2 separate regions of the Homo sapiens genome follow, and region 2 is linked to region 1. Evidence: promoter capture Hi-C in 16 types of primary human blood cells and fetal thymus (Javierre and others, 2016). All regions are on one chromosome and are shown on one strand. Each heading gives the region's core, a stretch centred on a gene start or on the middle of the fragment in contact. The rest is flanking DNA. Distances are from core to core; before and after follow the strand shown. Region 1 holds the start of YKT6 (YKT6 vesicular SNARE protein). Region 2 overlaps NUDCD3 (NudC domain containing 3).

Evidence for each region. The method cuts DNA at HindIII sites, captures the fragments that hold promoters and counts their contacts. A CHiCAGO score of 5 or more calls a contact.
Region 2: a fragment that was not itself captured here is called in contact with the fragment with the promoter of YKT6 in region 1 in 1 of 17 cell types (M1 macrophages); the score reaches 5.0 in M1 macrophages.

What each region holds. Positions count from the first base shown.
Region 1 is chr7:44,197,565-44,203,195 of GRCh38, forward strand. YKT6 (YKT6 vesicular SNARE protein) reads left to right here and starts at 3,414. Exons shown (of 7, transcript NM_006555.4): 1 at 3,414-3,675. The coding sequence starts at 3,572. RefSeq lists a silencer at 3,521-3,590. The HindIII fragment of the contact is 756 bases long and covers 3,305-4,060 here.
Region 2 is chr7:44,406,198-44,411,828 of GRCh38, forward strand. The region is part of intron 3 of NUDCD3 (NudC domain containing 3); the gene reads right to left. Among named protein-coding and RNA genes, the nearest start is that of NUDCD3, 82 kb to the right of the region's middle. The HindIII fragment of the contact is 239 bases long and covers 2,670-2,908 here.

The sequences.
Region 1 (5,631 bases), core at 2,164-4,663:
TCTTGAGCTTGTCTTGCAGGGCAGCCGATAAGGAAACAGTTTGCTATAATCCCCTCTGCTTATACAACTTGCTGGAACAGGTTGGAACCAATATGGCTGACTGGAGCCTGTGCAAAATAGACTTACTAGCCCGAGGAGCGGCCCTTTGATGTCACAGCCCAAATTCCCACAGCTTGTTTTATACCACCTCCTGAATCTGCATGTGACCCTTGAAGCAGCATGAAGAAGCAACAGCTCATGACCAAGAGATTTTCTAAACACTTCTTCGTTTCAGCCAATCACCGTCCAGCCCGAAACTCCACTTCCAAAATCTCTCCCTTAAATCTACTGCTGCGAAGCAAGTATTGGGAGACAGATTTGAGCCCGTCTTCTGTCCCCTTGCAAGGCTGCTTGGCAATACATCTTTCTTGCTACAAAAATCCAATGCTTGGGTGTTTGGTTTTATGTTGTGCGCAGGCAAATGCAGCCGGTTTAGTTTGGTAACACGTGATGTCACTTAATACACAAGAAACGGGCAAGATATGGCATCCTCAGGGAGCTGTGCCTCACTCATTCCTATCCATAGACTTGCCTTCTTTCAACAACGCAAGCAAAAAGAAGGGTTCATTTGGGTTGGTTCCAAGTCTTTGCTATTGTGAACAGTGCCACAATAAACATACGTGTGCATGTGTCCTTATAGCAGCATGATTTATAATCCTTTGGGTATATACCTAGTAATGGGATGGCTGGGTCAAATGGTATTTCCAGTTCTAGATCCCTGAGGAATCGCCACACTGACTTCCACAATGGTTGAACTAGTTTACAGTCCCACGAACAGTGTAAAAGTGTTCCTATTTCTCCACATCCTCTCCAGCACCTGTTGTTTCCTGACTTTTTAATGATCACCATTCTAACTGGTGTGAGATGGTATCTCATTGTGGTTTTGATTTGCATTTCTCTGATGGCCAGTGATGATGAGCATTTTTTCATGTGTTTTTTGGCTACATAAATGTCTTCTTTTGAGAAGTGTCTGTTCATATCCTTCGCCCATTTGTTGATGGGGTTGTTTGTTTTTTTCTTGTAAATTTGTTTGAGTTCATTGTAGATTCTGGATATTAGCCCTTTGTCAGATGAGTAGGTTGCAAAAATTTTCTCCCATTCTGTAGGTTGCCTGTTCACTCTGATGGTAGTTTCTTTTGCTGTGCAGAAGCTCTTTAGTTTAATTAGATCCCATTTGTCAATTTTGGCTTTTGTTGCCATTGCTTTTGGTGTTTTAGACATGAAGTCCTTGCCCATGCCTATGTCCTGAATGGTATTGCCTAGGTTTTCTTCTAGGGTTTTTATGGTTTTAGGTCTAACATGTAAGTCTTTAATCCATCTTGAATTAATTTTTGTATAAGGTGTAAGGAAGGGATCCAGTTTCAGCTTTCTACATATGGCTAGCCAGTTTTCCCAGCACCATTTATTAAATAGGGAATCCTTTCCCCATTGCTTGTTTTTGTCAGGTTTGTCAAAGATCAGATGCTTGTAGATATGCGGCATTATTTCTGAGGGCTCTGTTCTGTTCCATTGCTCTATATCTCTGTTTTGGTACCAGTAGCATGCTGTTTTGGTTACTGTAGCCTTGTAGTATAGTTAGAAGTCAGGTAGTGTGATGCCTCCAGCTTTGTTCTTTTGGCTTAGGATTGACTTGGCAATGCGGGCTCTTTTTTGGTTCCATATGAACTTTAGTTTTTTCCAATTCTGTGAAGAAAGTCATTGGTAGCTTGATAGGGATGGCATTGAATCTATAAATTACCTTGGGCAGTATGGCCATTTTCACGATACTGATTCTTCCTACCCATGAGCATGGAATGTTCTTCCATTTGTTTGTATCCTCTTTTATTTCATTGAGCAGTCGTTTGTAGTTCTCCTTGAAGAGGTCCTTCACATCCCTTGTAAGTTGGATTCCTAGGTATTTTATTCTCTTTGAAGCAATTGTGAATGGGAGTTCACTCATGATTTGGCTCTCTGTCTGTTATTGGTGTATAAGACTGCTTGTGATTTTTGCACATTGATTTTGTATCCTGAGACTTTGCTGAAGTTGCTTATCAGCTTAAGGAGATTTTGGGCTGAGACGATGGGGTTTTCTAGATATACAATCATGTCATCTGCAAACAGGGACAATTTGACTTCCTCTTTTCTTAATTGAATACCCTTTATTTCCTTCTCCTACCTGATTGCCCTGGCCAGAACTTCCAACACTATGTTGAAAAGGAGTGGTGAGAGAGGGCATCCCAGTCTTGTGCCAGTTTTCAAAGGGAATGCTTCCAGTTTTTGTCCATTCAGTATGATATTGGCTGTGGGTTTGTCATAGATAGCTCTTATTATTTTGAGATACGTCCCATCAATACCTAATTTATTGAGAGTTTTTAGCATGAGGGTTGTTGAATTTTGTCAAAGGCCTTTTCTGCATCTATTGAGATAATCATGTGGTTTTTGTCTTTGGTTCTGTTTATATGCTGGATTACGTTTACTGATTTTCGTATGTTGAACCAGCCTTGCATCCCAGGGATGAAGCCCACTTGATCATGGTGGATAAGCTTTTTGATGTGTTGCTGGATTCGGTTTGCCAGTATTTTACTGAGGATTTTTGCTTCAATGTTCATCAAGGATATTGGTCTAAAATTCTTTTTTTGTTGTGTCTCTCTCTGCCACCCTTTGGTATCAGGATGATGCTGGCCTCATAAAATGAGTTAGGGAGGATTCTCTCTTTTTCTTTTGATTGGAATAGTTTCAGAAGGAATGGTACAAGCTCCTCCTAAAATGTGGCACATATACACCATGGAATACTATGCAGCCATAAAAAATGATGAGTTCATGTCCTTTGTAGGGACATGGATGAAGCTGGAAACCATCATTCTCAGCAAACTATTGCAAGGACAAAAAACCAAACACCGCATGTTCTCACTCATAGGTGGGAATTGAACAATAAGAACACATGGACACAGGAAGGCGAACATCACACACCGGGGACTGTTGTGGGGTGGGGGGAGGGGGGAGGGATAGCATTAGGAGATATACTTAATGCTAAATGACGAGTTAATGGGTGCAGCACACCAACATGGCACATGTATACATATGTAACAAACCTGCACGTTGTGCACATGTACCCTAAAACTTAAAGTATAATAATAAAAAAAATGCTTACTTTAAAAAAAGAAAGAAAAGAAAAAAAAAAAAAAGAAGGGTTCAGGCCGCTGTGGGAGGCCCAGCACCACCCAGCACAAGACAGTACGGTATCCCGCCGCGCGCCCGACTCCACCTGGCGAGCAGGGAGGGGCCAAGCTTACGCGAGGCGTGGCATCCCGCCCCTCGCTGCATTGTACTTCCGGGCTCACATTTCTGCATCCGGAGTATGAGAACCCTCAACCAGGCTGACCGGATCCGGAAGTGGATTGCGAGCCAGGAGGAGGAAGCCGGCGGTGGCCCCGTCAGCAGCCGGCTGCTGAGAGGCCGGTAGGCGGCGGCGGTCCCGAGGGGCGGCGGCCGCGCTGCTCCCTGAGAACGGGTCCCGCAGCTGGGCAGGCGGGCGGCCTGAGGGCGCGGAGCCATGAAGCTGTACAGCCTCAGCGTCCTCTACAAAGGCGAGGCCAAGGTGGTGCTGCTCAAAGCCGCATACGATGTGTCTTCCTTCAGCTTTTTCCAGAGATCCAGGTGAGCGGCACAGGCTGGTGGGCCGTGGCGGTCGGGCGGAGAGGACTGGGGTGGGGGTCCGAGTCGGAGTGGGCCTGGGGTCGGCGGAGGGATGAGGGGAGGGTGGAGGAGGCCAAGGGTAGGGGCAGGGCGGGGTGGCCGAGTGCCCGGGGTCTGAGAAGGCTGGTGTCCGAGTCAGAGGCGGGGCGGGGTGGGGAGGGCCCGGGGTCTGCTGTCCGGGCTTGGTCTCCTATAATGGAATCTGGCCGTGGACTCTACCTTTGAGGAACCAACATTAGCTCTTTAAGAGCTTATACCATTCTAGAATATAGTTCTCTACTCAGTGTTTTTCAAATTTCTGTCGTGTAAAAATTTTAAGGAGACTGTGAAGTAGTGCAGATTTCCAAGCTTCATGCCAAGATGTTCTGAATTAGTAGATTGAGGCCTCGGTATTTATATTTTAGACCAACACTTCCCACCCAGTGATTCTGACTCTGGGAGCTTGGGTGCCGCATCTTGAGAGCCATATTTTGATTTTCTTGCGGGGCTTCCCAACAATTCTGTATGAGAGATAGTGATATACTTTTTTTTGTTTGTTTTTAATGGGTGAAGTCACTGAGGTACCAAGAGGTTATATCACAACCAGCTAGAACTGAAAGCCAGGTTTAACGCTTTTTAGTTGGACACTAGTGGTACAAAAGGATTCCACACGGAAGATGCAAATGAAGCATGGGATCTGTAGGGCTTACAGGCTTTTACTTGTTTCTGGGGCGCTTTAATTGCTGGAACGTGTTAGAAGTAACACAGACACTTCCAGACCATTCGTGGGAGGGATTGGGGTGACTCAGGCACGAAAGAAGGAGGACCCTACATGGTCGGTATCTATGGTCATCTTGTCTCAAAATCTGATGGAATCTGCCGTTTGGATTCTGTTTTCCCTGCTTCAGTGCAGCTGGTTCTTGATGAGAGTTCTTTGCCAAGGACTTGCTGGATGTAAAAAAAAAAAAATGTTATTTTGTTGAAACTTTCTGCTTCTTTGAGTTCTTTTAAAAAAATATTTTTAATTGTGGTAAAATGGTACACAAAATTTATCTTCACTATCTTTAAGCGTGTAGTGAGTGCATTGATATGAAATAGATTGATAGTGTTGTGCAGCCATCACTGTCAATCGTCTCCAGAACTCCTTTTTATCAAATTCGTGTCTATTAAACACATTCCCTTCTCCCCCAGCCCATGGCAACTGCCATTCTAATTTGTCTCTGTGATTTTGACTTTTCTGGCGACCTTAGATAAATGGAATCATATAGTTTTTGTGTGTCTGGCTTATTTCATGTAGCATAATGTCCTCAAGGCTCATGCATCTTGTTGCATATATCAGAATTTCTTTCCTTTTTAAGGCTGAATAATCCATTGTATTATTCACCACATTTTGCTTATCTGTTCATCTGTCAGTGGACACCTGGGTTGCTTCCACATTTCAGCCATTGTGAATGATACTGCTATGAACATGGATGTACAAATATCTCTTCAAGACCCTGCTCGCATTTTTTTGGTATTTACCCAGAAGCGGAATTGCTGCATTATCTTTTAGCTCCTTCTTGGGGTTCTTGGTCTTTGCAGTCTTTACCATGGCCTACATTCACTGCTCTGTGTTGTTGCTTTTCTCAGATGGAACTTTTGGTGCCAACTTGGCTCTGATTCTTTTTCCTTTTTCCTTCCCATTAGTACTTAAGATTCTCAGAGATTTCACTTGTAGGACTTATACCTCACCTGCTTGGGATGCCCACACTAGTTTCCAATGACTAACAGCTGCAACACTAAAGGGACATCTCTACTAATATGTCTTAAAACAACACATGTCCCAGCTGATTTATTTATTTATTTATTTTATTTTAGATGGAGTCTTGCTCTGTCACCCAGGCTGGAGTGCAGTGGCACAGTGTCAGCTCACTGCAACCTCCGCCTCCTGGGTTCAAG
Region 2 (5,631 bases), core at 1,539-4,038, 210 kb after region 1:
GCTAACCACAGGCGGCTCTGCCAGGTTCACATGCAGACTCCAAGGAAGCATCCTCTCATGAGATCGCAGTTCCACTTGCATGACCTTTCATAGGGGAATTTACCACGGAAAAGGGTATTTACTTGGCTAGTCCTATTGAACAATAGGCAACTGAGCTTCACTCCCTACCTTCTAACACCATGAGGAACGTGAGCAAATGGAACAACAGATCCACTCACTCCTGAAATGATCCAGACACATGTTGGGCCAAATCATGTCTAACCATGAACTTGTGTGCAATGGAAACACGACACAGAGGGCCCAAGGCTCCTCAGCCTGCCTTCACAAGAACAAGCTCACTTAACAAATATAATTCTCCCACCCAGCTCTATATAACATAATAATTTCCAAATTTGGGGAAGCTTCTCACACTGCCTACCCAGGGGAATGAACCAAATCATCAAGGGAGAAAACCAGACAAGAAATGCTTCCAGAGGTCCCAGGTGAAGATGTCACACTGGGAACAGACAGCCATCTCTCTGACCTCTTGTGAACTGCAGGCATAATAGGCATGAAGAGAAAAACCCCAGACAGTGAAAATGGGGGAAGAGGGAGGCCAGGAACAGATGAGATGTCAACAAATCTGCAGAAGACAAAAGGAGGAGGGGCACAGGAGACAAATCCTATAGGGTAGGAGACATCCAGAAGCCACAGCTACATAGGCTCCAGTTGGGAGTCGGCAGGTATGCAGAGCAGGAGCAAGGCCAGGGGCACATGTGGGAACTGCTGTGGCCCTGGACGCCCCACTGAAAGGGACAGGAATCCCTCTGTTTGCTACAGAAGAATGGAGGACCTTGCTCCAAAGACACTGACCAGCAGTCTGAGGACCTAGTGTGGATGCCTGTGTGTCAAGTGAAGTCCTACTCACTCAAGCATTAGGATGCCAAGACCCTATGTCCTATAAAGCAAAGCTGACTGGTCAATCCACTCAGCTGTCGGTGGTGGTGGGACGAGCAGGTTTCAGACACACAGTAGACAAACCCATCAATACGGTCCCACACTCAAGAGAATGGGAGAAAAATATTTTTGTATTAAAAAAAAAAAAAAGACCGGGCATGGTGGCTCACACCTGTAATCTCAGCACTTTAGGAGGCCGAGGCAGGCAGATCACCTAAGGTTGACAGTTCGAGACCAGCCTGACCAACATGGAGAAACCCCGTCTCTACCAAAAATACAAAATTAGCCAGGCGTGGTGTTGTATGCCTGTAACCCCAGCTACTCCGGAGGCTGAGGCAGGAGAATCGCTTGAACCTGGGAGGCAGAGGTTGCGGTGAGCCGAGACTGCACCATTGCAACAGGAGCCTGAGCAACAGGAGTGAAATTCTGTCTCAAAAAAAAAAAAAAAAAAAACTAGAGAACTGAAGACTGCATCTTGTGAGAAAAAACAGGCAGATGAAAACAAGTTAAAAAAAAATACAGAGCTAATTTGGAAAAAAGATATCCAAAAATATTTCTATTTTATGTCTTCACAGAGATCTGAGAAGACACTATATCCATATAACCAGAATAAAATATGAAAATAGAACAATTAGGCCAAAAAGAAAGAACACAAGAATTTAAAATACAGTAGCTAAAATTAAACTTCAATAAAGAGGCTGGAAGATAAAGTCAAAGAAATCAAGGTAGAAACACAGATCAATTCAGGCAATCAATTTGGCATTCCAGAAATTATGACAGTAATAAGATAATTTTCCAGAGCCAAAGGAAAATATGCCTCCAGATTGAAAAGTCCCACCAAGAGCTAAGCAGAATGAATGAAAGACTCATGAAATTTTATGACACTGGGTGTTTTTAAAAAGGTCCTGAAAGTTCCAAGGAGGAGAAAAAGCTTACTCACAAAGAGATGGAATAGACTTCCAGAATCAATTACACAGAGTGTAAGAAGATATCCCTTTCAATCCTAACAAGGGAAAATTATTTTTAAGCTAGAATTCTACATACACCCAAACTGAGAAATAAGTGAAAAGTTAAAATAAATGCATTTTAAGATATACAACAATTCTACATTATATATCACTTTGAGAAAAACAAAATGAGGATGAAAACTGAAAAAGAGGAATATCCAACTCAAGTCCAAAAACTGCATTTAATCTATAAACGCAGGAAGAAAATACCAGGAGTGTAGCTATACAGCAGAACAGGAAATAACCAGTCTAGAGTGGAGTTCAGGCAGAAAGAGATTTCTAGACAATACTCAGTATTAATGAATCTGGGTAATTCTGAGGTTATGATGAAGTATACTATTTTTGATAACAAGATAAAAAAGAAGGGCAGCAAGAACCCTCAGGAAAACAAAAAAGATTTAAGAGATTCCTGATCCAAAGGATGTCAGTGAAAATGGTGGTTACTACAGGCCTCCAAAAAGCTCTCCTCCATAAAAGCAACCAAAAAGTTGGCAAAAATTGTCAGTATCAACTTCTTATGGATTTTGGAAACTAACCAAAGGTTTGCAGGAACCCAGGGAGCATTAATTCAAGGAAAACAACCACATCTCAGTAAGAACAGTGAGCTCTGTGATATTTTAATTTGGCCTAGACCCATCCCCACTCTCCAGGCTCTCAGCAGGCCGCATTCCTGGTACAGCGTAGCAGCCATCGCTGGAGAAAACAGTGCTCTTAGAGCTCTTTCAAAGCTTCATTCTCAAAGAACTGTCATCATTTGACCTGTCTGATGGTTCCCTGTAAGACCTCATTTGCAAGACTGACTGACTGTTTCTGGCTAAACTCAGAAAAGCCTTCCTCCCAACCCAGGAGTGTCTGTTGAAAATACGGCAAGTGTTTTAACTTTGCAGCCTCCTGAGGTGGCAGATAACAACTGAGGCAAACCAAAGGCAAAGGTGGGAAATAAAATGTCCGTGGGGGCTTTGAAAAGCTTTGACATTTTCCCAGGAATCTAGAAAGACACATGAATGTACAGAGCTTCACTGCACACTCAGGAAAAACCTAAGAAGGCCTTAAGCTCTCACCTCTGGCTGACTTTGACTCAACATCAGCAGGAAATAAAGGCTAAGGCAGTTTTTAACTGTTAGGCCAAGCAATGAAGGTATGCTCCAACAGGTAGATGAAGCCCCTCGACAAAAACAGGTGTTTACTGATCCCAGGAGTTTAAGGAAATCGCCATCTAATAATTACTTGGCCACTAAGTTCACCAAGTACAGATTTCACTGGTCAGACACAATAAAGAATACAAACTTTACAGAATTAGTTCAGAAAAGTCATTAAACAAGAACAACTATATCACGTACCAATAGCAACCATGGGAAGAAAGGAGCATCTGATTTCCTGAGTCACCCCATTGTGTTATTTAAAAATCCATTTCTCAATAACAGCAAAAAAAAAAAAATTAGACAAAGAAACAACAAAGTATGGCCCATACATAGGAAAAAGAAAGCAATCAATAAAATCTGTCCCTGAGGAAGCCCACATATGAAGAACTTAGCAGAAAACAGTCTCTAAATCACCTATTTTAAATATGCTCAAAGAGCTAAGAAAACTATGCAAAAATTACTAAAGGAAAGTATGGGAATAACGTCTTTTAAGTAGAGAATATCAATAAATATCAGTATCACTATTGATACTGATAACGAGATAGAAATTATTATTACCATTTTTTTAAGAATCAAATACAAATTCTGGAGTTCAAAAGTAAAAGGGGGAAAAGATAAGCGTTCATGAAAGGGGCTCAAAACCACTTTTTAGCATTTAGAAGAAAGAACAAGCAAACTTGAAGACAGGTCAATTGAGATTACCCAAACTGCGAAACAGGAGGAAAAAACAGTGAAGAAAAATAAACAGAGTCACAGAACCTGAGGGACACTATTAAGCATACCAACATACAGAAGAGAAAAGAAGAAAGAATATTTGAAAGAATAATGGCTAAAAACTTTCCAAATTTGACATGAAAAAAATTACACCCAAGAAGCTCAATGAATTCCAAGTAAAATAAACTAAAAGGGAGCCAGCCTCACCTAGATGTCATAATCAAACTGTCAAAAAAGCCAAGTCAATAATGAAGGAACAGAACAAAAACAAGGAATAAAATCTTCAGAACTTACTATAAAGCTACAGTAATCAAAACAGTGTGGTACTGGCATAAGGACAGGCATCTATACAGATCAATGGAACAGAATTAAAAGTCTAAAAACAGCCAGGCACAGTGGCTCACGCCTGTAATCCCAGCACTTTGGGAGGCCGAGGTGGGTGGATCACGAGGTCAGAAGATCAAGACCATCCTGGCTAACATGGTGAAACCCCGTCTCTACTAAAAATACAAAAAAAATTATCCGGGTGTGGTGGCGGGTGCCTGTAGTCCCAGCTACTTGGGAGGCTGAGGCAGGAGAATGGTGTGAACCCAGGAGGTGGAGCTTGCAGTGAGTGGAGATCCTGCCACTGCACTCCAGCCTGGGGGACAGAGCAAGACTCTGTCTCAAAAAAAAAAAAGTCTAGTAACAGGCCAGGCATGGTGGCTCACACCTGTAATCCCAGCACTCTGGGAGGCCGAGGCAGGCAGATCATGAGGTCAAGAGATCGACATTATCCTGGCCAACAGGGGGTAACCATATTTCTACTAAAAATACACAAGTTAGCTAGGTATGGTGGTGCGTGCCTGTAGTTCCAGCTACTCGGGAGGCTGAGGCAGGAAATCGCTTGAACCCAGGAGGCAGAAGTTGCAGTGAGCCAAGATCGCGTCACTGCACTCCAGCCTGGCAACAGAGCGAGACTCTATCTCAAAATAAAGTCTAGTAACAAACTCATATATTTATGATCAATTGATTTTAGACAAGAGTACCAAGACAATTCAATGGGAAAAGAATAGTATTTTCAAGTAATTGTACCATGAGAACTGAGTATTCACATGCAAAAGAATGAAACTGGTCTAATAATTCAAAATGAAGTTGGACAACTATTTCATAGCATATAATAAATTTTTTAAACTCAAAATGGATCAAAAACCTAAATGCAAGAGTTAAAATCTGTGATCTTGGGTTAGGCAACGGGTTTTAGATATAACACCACAAGCAGCCAAAGCAAAAAAAAAAAATATTGACTTCATCAAAATTTAAAACTTTTATGCTTCAAAGAGTAGTATCAAGAAAGTGAAGACAACCCATAAAATGGGAGAAAATATCTGCAAATAATGTATCTGACAAGGGTGTAGTATCCAGAATACGTAAAGAAGTCTTACAACTCCACAATAAAAAGGCAAACAACCCAATTAAAACATGCATATGGACTTGAATAGGCATTTCGCCAAAGAAGATACACAAGTGGAAAATAAGGACATAAAAAGATGCTCAATGTTATTAGTCATGAGGGAAATGCAAATCAAAACAATGAAATCCTACTTCATACCCAGTAGGATAGCTACAATTAAAAAACAAAACCAAAACAGACAATAACAAGGGTTGATGAGGATACAGAGAAATAAGCACCCTCATACATTTCTGGTGGATCTGTAAAATATAAAATGGTACAACCACTTTGGAAAACTGTTTGACAGTTCCTCAAAAAGTTAATTATAGAGGTACCACATGACCCAGCAATTCCACCCATAGGTATATACCCTAGTGGTGAAGACAGAAAACATATGTCC